2 separate regions of the Homo sapiens genome follow, and region 2 is linked to region 1. Evidence: promoter capture Hi-C in human tissues and cell types (Jung and others, 2019). All regions are on one chromosome and are shown on one strand. The core of a region is centred on a gene start or on the middle of the fragment in contact, and the rest is flanking DNA. Distances in the headings are between cores, read along the strand shown. Region 1 holds the start of ERMN (ermin). Region 2 overlaps GALNT5 (polypeptide N-acetylgalactosaminyltransferase 5).

Region 1 (6,789 bases), core at 358-2,857:
TGCCGAGATTGCACCATTGCACTCCAGCCTGGGCAACAAGAGTGACACTCCGTCTCAAAAAAAAAAAAAAAAGCTGTATGTTAATTGTAGACTTTTAGGAAAGACCCGTTTTTGAAACATTTACCTTTCACAAGGTGCACACACAGATTTGGACACACCAAATCAAAAAGTAGGGTTGACTCAGTGGACTAACTTAAGAGATAGACATCACGTTGGTATGCCAATCAGCTATGCCATTCCATGCAGCCTCAGCCTTGAACAGTCTGGAATGCTTTATAAGGTGGAACCCACAGATAAGTTAAGACTCTCTTATCTGCCTACAGCAGCTTTGAAAATTTGAAGTCATTGCCTGGATTGCTTTGTCAACCCCACGCTCATGCAACATTTCATGGAAAGACTGTCATCCATACTCAGTCAAACAATTTCTGTGTACAAAACTGTAGTTCTTGTTACCTTCTCTGAATGTCATTTCATCAGCACTAGTTTCTTGGAGAGAAAGATCTGTGATAGCCTTATGAACAATAAAGAGTTTCTCTTCTGGGTTTTCTAGGAAAAAAATATAAAATCAGTATTTTAACATTTAAAATATTTATTGTTCAACAGTTAATAAGTTATCAATTTAAACTCTAGGTAGAAGTCTTTAATTTTAAATCTGATCATTAAAATTTACTATTTCACTCTTTGGATTCATTCTTTATCAATTCAATTTATTTACTTAATGATCACTTTATTGATTGTAATCTCTCCTTTAATATTTATATAAGATATATATATAAGATATAGAACCATAAATTCAGAGAACTTCAGTTATATTTAGAAGGAAATTTTAACATTTTGAATTCTCTTTGTTCAAATAATATGGGGCTGTCCATAATCATAATAAATACAGTAGTTAACATTTAGCCAATACTTACCCTAGACTTGTAGTTATTATTATTATTCCGCCTTCTTCTAGTGAAAAAAACTCAGGCTTCGGGAGACAGAAAGTTGTCTGGGGTCACAGCTGTCAAATAGACCAGCCTGGATTTCACCAGAGGCAGAGGTTTAGTCCTTATACTATGCGTAGTAGAATAAAGGGCTACATTTTTGGGGTGTCCAGCTCATTTCGATAATAGTTTATCAAAAAAATCCAGGGTAAATTTATAAGTCAAAACAAGAAAATTAAGGAGAAGGGAAACACTTTACCTTTTAGCATTTTGTCCTCCATGGATGAGTTGAGCAGCATGTTCCCTTGTAATTTTCTTCTTTCCTCCTGACTTCCTTTGGTGAGTGCACCTTCCAGACTGGGTTCTACCCTGTAGTGTGGCAGGGGGCTGTCCACATCAGTCAATTCCTCACTGATTTTAGTGATTGTTTGTTGACCGTTTTCAGGTGGTTTATCCCCATTACACTCAGCCTGGGTAAATGTAGCCGGAACATCTGTCATGATGTGCGGTTGAATCCGATCTGGAGAGAGAGCTTTAGGGAAACTGAGTGAGTAGATCCTTGATAAGATACCTGCTCTTGCCTTCAAGTCCTATAGTTCCAACTCCTACTCTAAGAGCACAAATTATTCACTTTAGTACATAATAACAAGGTTCTTTTCCTAAAAGTATCCAGACAGAGATTAGAGCAAAAGCAAGAGGATTTGTCAGATCTGCCAGGAGCCATGAGCAAGAATCCAGCCAATCACCACCTTCTTTGTTGCTTGCCAGTTCCCTGGCAGAGTTAAAGGCATCCTTTTGATTTACATAAACAAACAATCTGAAGCAATCAGGCTTTTGTGTTGGCATGTAGAGAGGGACTTTCAGCTTGTCAGTCCCCCTCTGGGAACAGAGATTTTTGTCCCTTTTCATAATGGCCCATTGTAATTTTCCCTGTAACAGGAGCCACAATTGTCCCACAGCTTTAATCCAGAGAGAATGACCACCTTGAGGCATATTAGTTCTGTGTAACCAGCTTAACATTTCCAAACAGATTTTGTTCAAGTAAAACCTCAGCTATTTTGTAAAGGACAATGGCATTGTTTCTTATTTATTAAAAAATAAAACAGCTTATGGAAAAAACCTATAAACAGGACAACTTTACTGTAAATGGTTCTGGCTGCAGATTTGATGGTGTGCTTCCAGCAGGCTGGAGAAGGGACCTATGAAATAAACAAATTCTACCAACTTGCTAATACCAAAAGTTTTATAATTTCAGAGTAATTTACTTAGTCTATAGCTTCTTATCCTCTAGTTTATGTCTGCTGAAGCCCAGCCGATCCTTTAAAACCCTAATAAAATTATCGCCATGAAGGTTTCTCCTCCCCCAATCAGAATTACAATCCTTTCTATTCCATACTGATATTACACAATGCTGGTAAAATGTAGAGGACCAATGCAATCTGCCCTTGGGAGAAACAGGTGATTATGTTAAATGACTGCTACTGACCACCCCTTCCTTTTTAAATCTTTTTCTTTTTTGGATTTCTCATAGTACAAAATGGTTCCAGAGCCTTTGCCCACACAGCTCCTTCTATGTGAAATGCCCTTCTCTTCCTCAAGCCCAAGCCCTGGGCTGACCAGCTTCCCTAAGTTCTGTTTTTAAGCTTAAATATCATCTCCTTAACTACACTATCTCTAACCGCCAGGATTAGGACAGGACTCTGTTACACATTGTCTTTGCCCTTCAGAGTATTCTTCATGGTTGTAACTAAATAAGCAACTGCACAATTATCTCTGTAATGTCTGTTTCACCAACTGCAAACTAAGTTTCATCTGGCGAGGGGCCAGTTTAACTTGCTTACATGTGTCCCCAGCACTTAGCATCTGGCTTGGAATAGTAGCACGCAATAAAAATAATTATATATATACACATATATACACAAATAATTATATATATACACATACATAACAAGAATTATATTATATATATAATATATACAATAAATTTTATCCCCAAGAGAATAAATTTCAGATCATTTTTAAAGAGAAGAAGAATAGGTGTTGAAGAGTTGTAGTAAGCATATCACCTTTAAAAGTGTGTCTAGGGCTGAGCCCATTCAGGTCTATATCAGGGACAACACCTCACTCTTGTATAATCCCCTCTCCCTTGTCCTTGGAAGACATCTCTAATAGATCCTAGATCTCCCTCCCGCGTCATCACCAGCTGTTCTCTAGTCAGCACTCTAATTCTATGTTTGTTTGATTGTTTAACTGTTTTAACAAACGCTCATATCACACTTATTATGTGCAAGCTACTGTCCTAATTGACTCATAAATAGTAATACACTTACTCTTCATAACAGTCTTCTGAGGTAGGTGCTGTTGTTATCTCCATTTTATAGACTAGAAAAATGAAGTGCAGAGAGATTAAGGAGTTCAGCTAGTAAGGTCACAGAGCCAGCAAGCCTACTGATGAGAGTTTGCAGCACAGATGAAGCTAAGCGCCATCCCTGGCCTGTGTGCAGATGTTTCCTTGGACCAGAGATCCCACAGGGGTTCGGCATTAGCACCTTGGCAGTAGAGACAGTTGTGGCCAGGAGAGGGCAGCAGAGAGCCTAAGGCAGTCTCAAGACCTGCCCCAGAGACACCCTGCAGCTGCTGAGGATGATGTTCTGGGAGCGTCCTCCCAAGAAATTCAACTACAAGCTTACTGTTGAGAAGATATTGAGTGGAATCATATGGGAGAATGCAGAAACTAAGACCAAGCTTAGGAACAAATGGGGACATACTAGATTGTGAGATCCTTAGGGCAGGAAGTGGCACTAATTCAACCAAATGCCCTGCGATAAACACAGGAGTACAGAAATACATTAGCTCCAAAGGTCATGCCTCCAATCACTCCGTTCCCTCGGGGCTGCCAAGTACCTCAATCCAGGGACATAGCAAAGTTGAGACAGTTCAGATTCATTGTCTCTCCTACTCCTAGATTTCTATTACCCCATGGCAACGGGCACCTCATACCCATAGCCTAGCTTTTATGGGAATTCGTGTCTTTATTTTTGGATTGCCTTCTTTCTAAAACCATGCTGTGACATTTTTTATGGCCTTAAAATTATTTCAGTTTTGGAAAGATAGAGAAATGATCCAGAGTTCTGTCATCCTTGGCTAACCATGTGTTTACATTTATTTAAAAACATGCTTTTATGCTGCCCTAGGGAATAATGGAGGTCGGGTAAATGGTTTGTAACGTGTATTATTTTTTCCTACAAGTAGACGGCAACATGAGACACATTTAGCAACAAGATGAGTCTATCCAACTACTAGATAAAACATAGGCTATTTTGTTCATAAAGAGGTAAGTTGTCTCCCATTATTTGTAACAACCTATGACTTAGAAAGTATGTTAGAATTTGCACTATCATCCTTACTTCAAATACAATTGCAGAATGTTCACTGTATGAAACATGACTGTTTTATTTTATGTAGTTTACTGGATCTTGTGGCTTTTTCCTTAGAAGAATTTCGCTCTTGTCACCTAGGCTGGAGTACAGTGGCACAATCTCGGCTCACTGCAACCTCTGCCTCCCAGGTTCAAGAGATTCTCCTGCCTCAGCCTCCTGAGTAGCTGGGATTACAGGCATGCGCCTTGATGCCTGGCTAATTTTTGTATTTTTAGTAGCGGGGAGGATTTCTCCATGTTGGTCAGGCTGGTCTCGAACTCCTGGCCTCAGGTGATCCACCCGCCTTGGCCTCCCAAAGTGCTGGGATTACAGGCATAAAGCACTACACCTGGCCCCTAGTTATTATTCTTAATGCTAAAGGACATTGTACAAATGTAACCATTATTAAATCTAAAGCCAAAAAAAAGGTAATGAAAAGATTTTCATATAAGAATATAAAGAATCAAAATAAAATTATGTAAATATTCACTTTCCATTTGTCCAATACCAAATGCTTAATGTTAAGGCTATCTTAGGTCCAGAATCAGGATTTGGGGAAAAGTCATAAAATCTTGATCTTTAATCTTAATCATATGTGAAAAGCCAAGCCACAAGCTAATGTTATGGCTAAGAGATGGTCACAGAGCACTGAATAAAAACAAGAAATACATTTAAAAGAAAAATGTTGATCCTGGCAGCTTGAAGCCAATCTTAAACAAACATTGACTTACATAGTTGGGACAGGGGTATTGTTTCAATTAGGGTTGGAAGGGAAAGGCAGAACCACTAAGAGATGGAGCAATCCATCTATCAATCGATCAATTGATTGATCAATCAGAAGGGATTTGACTTTACACAATGGTGGGTGCCAGTGAAGCTGCCTCTATATGTCTGCTGTTGCATTTGATGCTGGAGCCTGAAGTCTGCAGGGCAGGAAGTTGGGAAGGGATGATGGATAGAAACTTAAAGGGGGAGAGCAAGAACAAACTGGGTTCCCAGGTATAAGCTGGACACACGGGGGCAAACTGAAACCCGCGTCGGCTCTCAGTGCCTCTGACCTTAGCGGTTGGAATGCCCTCCCAAAGAAGCCCGGCCCAGGATCATAGAAGCTGGAGGAAGATCCAGGGAGGTGGAACAGTTGCAGGCCCAGCTGCTGCCCATGCACCAGGTGAGGCAGCAGACGGGCAGCAGTGTGTGCCAGCTACAAAATAGCTGCTTCACTTCCGCCCCACCAAGCTCACAGAACAATGTTTACTTTGGCTCACGTTTCTTTTTCAGGAATCATTCAGGAAAGAAAATTCAGGGAAATTTAGTTTAGCCTAGTCAGACTGACATACAACAGTCACAATCCTACCAATAACCCATAGAATTTTCTATAAGGAATAGAGCAATGACCCAGGGAATGTGCAACCCTAAACAAGCCTGAAGAGACAGGATCATCCCAATTGGTTCACTTCAGGGATTAAAATTCCAAATTGAAGGGCCGTCCCAGCTAAAGTGAACTGTTACAGAAATACAGACTATCATAACACAACAAAATCAATCAACAGCCATATATTTTATTTCACAAAACAATAATTGCCTGCCACCTGGTATAAATCAGATTAAATTGATTATCGTGTGCCATGTTCATGCTTTCCTTTTACTTTTATGCCAAGAATGGAATAATGGCTGCCATTCTAATGATACAGTTTCCTGAAGTAAATAATGGTTTATCCCAGGAAACCAATACTGAAGTCTATGGGTAGCTCATGAGTATTAAGGGTTTAATGTAACAGAATTTCAAAATTTAACTGCATCTTACAAGAAGCATGCTTTTCAATGTTGGAGGCAGGGGAGGGGATAATTATCTGTTCTCCCTCTAAATATAAAATATTTCTTACACCTTAGGAAAGGTATATCTCTGTGGCTCTAGCATCTAGAGCCTGGCCTTCTAGTGATCCAGTGAATATCATTTTAAAGAAAAGCACTGGAAGAAACAGGCTGAGTATTTGGTGAGGATTAGAGAAGAGTGTGGCCCTGAACATAGGACCCTGTGGCCAACATGGGCTGAAGTGGAGGCTGGGAGGGAGAGTGCTGACAGTTAAGAGTCCCCTTCAAATAGAGGACAAATGAGCATTCTCATCAGTGACCCTCATAGGGTAAAGAGGAGAGATTCAGCCTGCTCCTGTGTGACCTTGGGCAAGTGTACAAATCAGGCATGTTTGGGTTAGAGATTACAGAAACCTAATTCAAAGAATCATAAACTGAATTCAATAGCTAATTTGACTGGTAAATTCAGAATTGGCTTTGTACTTGTTTGGATCCAAAGATTTAAACAAGGTCAGGCTCCATGGTTCACAACTGTAATCCCAACACTTTGGGAGGCCAAGGTGGGTGGATCACCTGAGGTCAGGAGTTCAAGACCAGCCTGGCCAACATGATAAAACCCCACCTCTACTAAA
Region 2 (7,617 bases), core at 514-3,013, 45 kb before region 1:
AAATATTGCTGCCTGATCCTTCCTCTGCCTGAAGCTTCGTCCCAGAGGGGCACCCGCCTATATGAGGTGTCTGTCAGCCCCTACTGGGAGGTGTCTCCCAGTTAGGCTACACAGGGGTCAGGGACCCACTTGAGGAGGCAGTCTGTCCATTCTCAGAGCTCAAACGCCGTGCTGGGAGAACCACTGCTCTTTTCAGAGCGGTCAGACAGGGACATTTAAATCTGCAGAAGTTGTCTGCTGCCTTTTGTTCAGCTATGCCCTACTCACAGAGGTGGAGTCTACAGAGGCAGTAGGCCTTGCTGAGCTGCGGTGGGCTCCACCCAGTTTGAGCTGCTTTGTTTACCTACTCAAGCCTCAGCAATGGTGGACGTCCCTCCCCGAGCCAGGCTGCCGCCTCCCAGTTTGATCTCAGACTGCTGTGCTAGCAGTGAGCAAGGTTCCATGGGTGTGGGACCTGCCAAGCCAGGCACAGGAAAGAATCTCTGGGTCTGCCAGTTGCTGAGACTGTGGGAAAAGCACAGTATTTGGGCAGAAGTGTCCCATTTTTTCAGGTGCAATCTGTCACAGCTTCCCTTGGCTAAGAAAGGGAAATCCCCAGACCTTTTGCGCTTCCTGGGTGAGGTGATGCCCCAACCTGCTTTGGCTCACCCTCTGTGGGCTGCACCCACTGTCCAACCACTCTCAATGAGATGAACCAGGTACCTCAGTTGGAAATGCAGAAATAACCCGTCTTCTGTGTCAATCACGCTGGGAGCTGCAGATCGGAGCTGTTCCTATTTGGCCATCTTGGAACAGACCTCAATTTTTTGTATTTTTTAGTAGAGATGGGGTTTCTCCATGTTCGTCAGGCTGGTCTCGAACTCCTGACCTCAGATGATCCACCCACCTTGGCCTCCCAAAGCACTGGCATTACAGGCATGAGCTACCTCACCCAGCCTATTTCTTGCCTTAACTCATTAAGCCCTTGTGTCAGGCTAAAAGACATGGTTCTCCAAAAATATATTTACTTCCTAATTCTCAGAACCTGTGATTATTACCTCACCTGGAAAAACAGTGAATATTACCTTCTGAAGCAAGAGATGTGATGAAGGATCTTGAGAGGAGACATTTACCCTGAATTACCCAGATAAGCCCCAAATGCCCTAAATCACATGTATCCTTATAAAAGAGAGCCAGGCAGAGGTTTCACCCAGAGAGACACAGAGGAGAAAGTGATGTGAAGACAGAGAGAGAGATTTGAGTGATTCAACAAGTCAAAGACTGCCAGCAGAAGCTGAAAGAGGCAAGGAACAGAATGTCCCCTACAACATATGGAGGGACTGAGGTCCTACTGACATCTTGGTTTTAGAATTCTGGACCCCAGAAATGTGACAGAATATGTTACCAAGTTTGTGGTAATTTGTCATGGCAGTCAGAAGAAACTAATATAAATTTTGGTATCAAGGAGTGAGGTGCTGCTATAACAAGTACCCAAAAATACAGAAGTATCATCCAAGGAATAGCCAAGTGATATGGTTTGGATGTTTGTCCCCTTCAAATCTCATGTTGAAATGTGACCTCCAATGTTGGAGGTGAGACTTGGTGGGAGGTACTGGATCACGGAGGCAGATCTATAATGGATGACTTAGTGCCATCCCCTTGGTGATATGTGTGTTCTCCCTCAGTTCATATAAGATTTGGTTGGTTAAAAGTGTCAGAGACCTCACCTTACTGTCTCTTGCTTGCTCTGTCATGTAACATGCCTGCTCCCACTTCGTCTTCTGCCATGGGTAAAAGCTCCCTGAGGCCTCACCAAGAGCTGAGCAGATGGCAGAGCCATGCTTCCTGTACAGCCTGCAGAACCGTGAGCCAATTAAACCTCTTTTCTTTACAAATTAGCTAGTCTCAGGTATTTCTTTCTTTCTTTCTTTCTTTTAGATGAAGTCTCACTCTGTCACCCAGGCTGGAGTACAGCAGTGCGATCTCAGCTCACTGCACACTACAACCTCCACCTCCAGGGTTCAAGCGATTCTCCCTGCCTCAGCCTCCCAAGTAGCTGGGATTACAGGCACCCGCAACGATGCCCAGCTAATTTTTGTATTTTCAGTACAGACTGGATTTCACCATGTTGGCCAGGCTGGTCTTGAACTCCTGACCTCAAGTGATCCACCCACCCCGGCCTCCCAGAGTGCTGGGATTACAGGTGCCCAGCCAGGTGGATTTCTTTGTAGCAACACAAAAATGGCCTAATACACCAAGGAATTCGCTAATAGGTAGAGGCCGGAAGAATTCTGTGAAGCATCATAGAAAAAGCCTAGAATGCCCTGAAGTCACTGTTGGTAGCAATATGAATATCAAGGATGCTGTTGGTGAGGGCTCAGAAGGAAGTGAGCGGCACAGTAGAGAAAGCTCCTATCAAATTGCGCCATGGCATTCCCGCCTGGGTGACAGAGCAAGACTCTATTTCAGAAAAAAAGAAAGAAAGAAAGAAAGCTTCTATCAATCATCTTTGAAAATATGTATGCTATCTTGAGCAGAATGTTGGCAAAAATATGAGCATTGTAAGTACTTCTGGTGCAGGCTTAGAAGGAAATATAGAGCACATGATTGAGAAATGGAAGAAAATGATCCGTGTTACATAGTGGCAGTGAGCTTGGCTTAACTGTGTCCTATAGTCATGTGAAAATTAGCAGAACTTGCCAATGATGAAATCGGATATTTAGCTGAGGAGAGTACCAAGCAAAATGTTGAAGGTGCATACTGATATCTTCTTTCTGTTCAGAGTACAAATGTGAGAGAAAATAGATACATTCAGGAAGGAACTGTTAAGCAGAATTTTCAGTAATTTGTTATGGTGGCCAAAGTAAACTGATAAAGCTCTTAAGTGAAGAGAGGAATATCTTCTCATATTATTCAGAAGTGCTAATGCATGGATCCTTAGTGTAGACTAATATTAGTTTAGACAGTCTGATATTTTAAGTTAGCATTAGATACCTGATCACTACATGAAGATAGTGAATCAAAATGTGTTATTTTAATTCTCTGTCACTTGAACATTTAGGACATGCTCCTATCAGCTGTCAATTTATTTTTTTTAATATTAGCCTCAAATAATAAGAATAAATTAACTTTATCTTGAGCTCAAGTTCTTAAACTCACCAATCAATGATTTGTGAGTCATTCTTTTGTTTGTTGGTGGGTTGGTTTCTTTGTGTTTTCTTTTATTTGTTTGTATTTTAAGACATGGATTCTTGGGCCCTCAGCAAACCTTGTAAATTGATTTTCTGGGGCTGAGGATTGGATATTTATGTTTTTCTAAGGCTTTGTCAATTATTATGATAAACAACCATCTAGGAAACCATTGAAATTATGAAGCACAGCTGGATTTGTCTACCATTTCTTAAGTACCCCCTATGTGTCAGATATATATTAGATGAGTTTTACATAATGTTTATATGTAATCTTATAGGTACATGTTTAATTTCAGCTTTGTAGTTGGCAAATTGAGGTTCAAAGAAGTAGTAAAGCTGTTCCAAATCAGTAATTAGAAAAACTGATATTTGAGCACATATCTATTTCCAAAGCCCATTCTACAAAAAAAACCAGCAGTAAAGTAAAAACATTATTTGTTCATATTTCCTTATATATCCTATCTAGGTGGATGATGTGGGTAAGTCATTTAACTTCCCAAGATTTGAAGAAGTGTATAATAATATGTATCTCAAGCAGTTGTTATGAAGACTGAATTCAATTATGTACAGAATAGCACTTTGGCAACACTAGAGTGTCATGCAAATGTGATTTGCTTTACTATCGTTTTTGCTCTTACCTATTTCTTATTTATGGAATAAGTAAAGTATAACCATGTTATTTGGCAGAAGTGCCAGCTCTCACAAAATGTCGCATCTACTGCCAGCTGCTTCTATTCTTGTGGATCTAAGGCTTCCTCAATGGTTACTTTTGGAGCCAGACTGGATCAGTGTTCGAGTCCCAGCTCTGCCATTTACTAACTGCAGAATCATGGACTAGTCTTTCCATGATTTTGATTATTCACCAATAAAAAGGGAAAGAGATGCTGGTAATTTGAGGTCGACATTGAAATAATATAGAATGCTTATAATATTTATGATCATCATTAATTATCACATTACTGACAGTAGCTGTGTTAGTAAGATGGCAAATACATTTTGTGAGGTTCCACTGGGCACTGCTTATGAAGAGTGGCACAGGCAGGGGGTGAAAGAATGCCAGCAGTGAGGCAGTGTATTCTGCAGGGCATGGGAAAAAACCCAGGCCAGTTGCAACCCACCTGAATACTAACTCCCACTGTAGCCTGGATTGCATTCCTATGCCAGCAAAATGGTTTTTCAACTGTGGCTATTCTGTAGCAGAGTATCAGCAAGGAAGCCCCGGATACGGAAGCTAAAAAGAGTTTAATTATTTGGCACATATATATTATGCCATAAGTACATACACAAGCAGAATGGGAGAAAAGAATAAATCCCATGGCAGTTGGCAGACAGCCAGTTGGAAAGGCAATCATAAACCACTTGGGAACATTAAATAAGTCAGAATGCTATCTTCTAGCATATAATCTAGTAATGATAGCAATAACTACCATTTCATAAATTCCTGTGCCAGGAACCCTGCTAGGCTTTGTATGTACATTATCACTAGGCTACAAAACTCTATTGAATAAGAACCATTTATTACCTCATTCTGCAGATGAGGAAACTGAGGCACAGAGAAGTTAAAGAAGGCATTAATGGTTAAAGACCTGAGAAATATTGGCCATGAGATTTGAAATAGAGTCTAACTACCTGTAAACCCTGTCCTTTCCACTGCAGTGTGATGTCTGCATGGGACATTCTCATGTCTTGCATTTCTAGTCCTTTTATAACAACCACGGTTACGGGTAATTCTTCTGCTTTTTTATTTTGCATGTACCCCTCCCCAAAAAAAGGCACATGATAAATAATAAAATCATCATTGGTATATATAAATAGATGATAGATAGACCAGACAGATCGATGACAGATTAAGTGTGTGTGTATATGCACACCATCGCACTCTGTGACTTTTAAAACTATCTTGTGGATCTCCTTAGCACATCTCTTGTGCTCTGCTTATATTCTGGCCCAGATGTGCAGAGCAGCTAGTTCACAATAACCTCCCAACCACCAGTGTCATCATGTGCTTTGTGGATGAAGTGTGGTCCACTCTCCTGAGATCTGTTCACAGTGTCATCAATCGCTCTCCTCCACACCTCATCAAGGAGATTCTGCTGGTAGATGACTTCAGCACCAAAGGTAAGAAAACCACTCAGGCTATCTCTTGAAATTTCAAAGTTTGGCAGAAGCAAAGTTTAGTAGCAGTTTGGATGGCAAAATTATAGGATAATTTGATGAAGCATAAACATCGTACAAATGCTTTGTTTTACGTGGAGCCTCAGAGACATAAGTCTAAGCATCTATGGACGTTAAAAGTCATCTGGAGCTCTGTTCAGTTAGTTGTCTCAGTTGTAACTCTGCTACCATGTTGGAATGATCTAACTATGGCTCCTTGGAGATGGGCACTTAGAAGTAGTGGAGTTTAGATGTCCTCTACAATTGCACAAATCCCTTTTAATGGAATCACAATTAACGGGAGGCCTTGCCTACTGGTAATAACTAGAGTTACAGTTAGACTCTATGGAAGGCAAAGAAATTAAGATCTTATGGCTTCTTCCTTGAGAGCAAGGCATATGATGTGTTCAGTTAAGTGTTAAGAAGACAAATTGCCAATAGGACAAGAGAGATGAGGTGATTCCAACAAAGTTCAAAACCAGAATCCACCATAGCCTTTATGTTCATTTTTGCTTATTACAGTGAAGAATCTCACTCTTTGGGTTGTCAAATAACCTGTGTATGTAGGTGGTCTGACAGCCACATTACAAATTCCCAAATGGAACCCATTTTTCAGAAAAGTTTAGAAAATAGCAAAGACTTGGCAATGCTAATGGAACAGCTTACCCTTGAGCTGTGACCACAGCAACATGGGAAGTTTCTTTAGCTTCAGAGTTTCTGCCATAATCACACTGAGCTCAAGAAGCTGTGGGATGATAGAGAAAAACTGGCTGAAAAACATAAAATGTGGCCTTGGAAGCATAAACAGGAATAGTACCCAATTAGTAAGTAGATAGGAGTCCCTTTATGAGGGGCAGGTCCAGATTCTGTGGGACCTGAAGCTTATTCAGTTTTCAGGGTCCTGTCTAAGAAAAACTTTCTTAGAAAGTTTTCTGGAAGCCATTCCAACCTAGGATAGCTGTCAATAGCTTGATTACACACAGAAATGACTGTAAGTCACATAAACATAGCTCATAAAGCCCCCGGAAAACTGTTCCTTTAGCTGGATCCCTCCATGGCCATCTAATAAGAGAGAAAAGGTGTAATGGAAGGGGATGTCAGAGTAGAGAATGAAAGGGTCTTATTTGCACACATTGTTTAGCCTCTTCCTTGGGTCATGGAAGGGGCTTTTGCAAGAGGTGGGGCTGAGAGTAGAGGCAGAATTGTGCAGAAGCCTGAGCTACATATATTTTAAGGCAAATCTGCCCCCACCTTGACAAATACTCAGAAAGGTGTGCCCTCCACTACATCACCTTACAACACTGAAAACAAACATTTGGGGTTTGAAAAATCAGACAGCTTTGAATACTGAAACCAGATAGAATCCTTCCAAGAAAATGACATCAGAAAATAAAATTATGACCCAAGGAATAAAATTCAGTGATGATGGTAATGTCATAGTTTTTGGCATTTGACTTTGGGGAGCACTTCTGATACTATCCGGACTTACTTAATTCAAGTATTTCCTGGTTTATCTTTACTCTGATGTAGACTATCTAAAAGATAATTTGGATAAATACATGTCCCAGTTTCCAAAAGTTCGGATTCTTCGCCTCAAAGAGAGACATGGCTTAATAAGGGCCAGGCTGGCAGGAGCACAGAATGCAACAGGTAAGAAGTTACTCATTTTTTTGTTTGTTACATTTTTATTTTAATTTAAAATGTTTCTCAAACATACAGCAAATGTGAAAGACCAGCACAATGATGCCTATATATGCATCACTTAGTTCCATCAATTTTAAACAGTTTTTATAATATGTGCTTTATCATAAACACACATAGACACCTATTGTATATACTTTTTTCCTGAACCTTTGAAAAAGAAGTTACAGACATCATCATACTGCACCCCTAAGTACTTCAGTGGGCAGCTCTGAAGAACAGAAGCATTCTCTTAAATAAGCACAGCTTTCATAACTAAATATAATACCTACTATATGCTCTTTTCAAGTTTTCTCATTGTTCCCAAAATGTTTTTGTTTTTGTTTTTGTTTTTTTGAGACAGAGTCTCGCTCTGTCACCCAGGCTGGAGTGCACTGGTGCCATCTCAGCTCACCACAACCTCCGCCTCCCTCGTTCACACCGTTCTCCTGCCTCAGCCTCCCAAGTAGCTGGGATTACAGGCACCCACCACCATGCCCGGCTAATTTTTTGTATTTTTAATAGAGACGGGGTTTCACTGTGTTAGCCAGGATGGTCTCGACTCCTGAACTCGTGATCCGCCCGCCTCGGCCTCCCAAAGTGCTGGGATTAC

What was found. The method cuts DNA at HindIII sites, captures the fragments that hold promoters and counts their contacts. A contact is called where the count stands out against the background at its distance.
Region 2: a fragment that was not itself captured here is called in contact with the fragment with the promoter of ERMN in region 1 in 2 of the 25 tissues and cell types used here (adrenal gland and bladder).

What each region holds. Positions count from the first base shown.
Region 1 is chr2:157,324,217-157,331,005 of GRCh38, forward strand. It overlaps ERMN (ermin), which reads right to left and starts at 1,608. Exons shown (of 3, transcript NM_020711.3): 1 at 1,186-1,608; 2 at 454-546. The coding sequence starts at 1,426. RefSeq lists an enhancer at 1,492-2,041. The HindIII fragment of the contact is 5,881 bases long and covers 1-5,597 here.
Region 2 is chr2:157,279,161-157,286,777 of GRCh38, forward strand. GALNT5 (polypeptide N-acetylgalactosaminyltransferase 5) reads left to right here. Exons shown (of 10, transcript NM_014568.3): 2 at 5,122-5,288; 3 at 6,855-6,974. Among named protein-coding and RNA genes, the nearest start is that of GALNT5, 25 kb to the left of the region's middle. The HindIII fragment of the contact is 5,149 bases long and covers 1-4,338 here.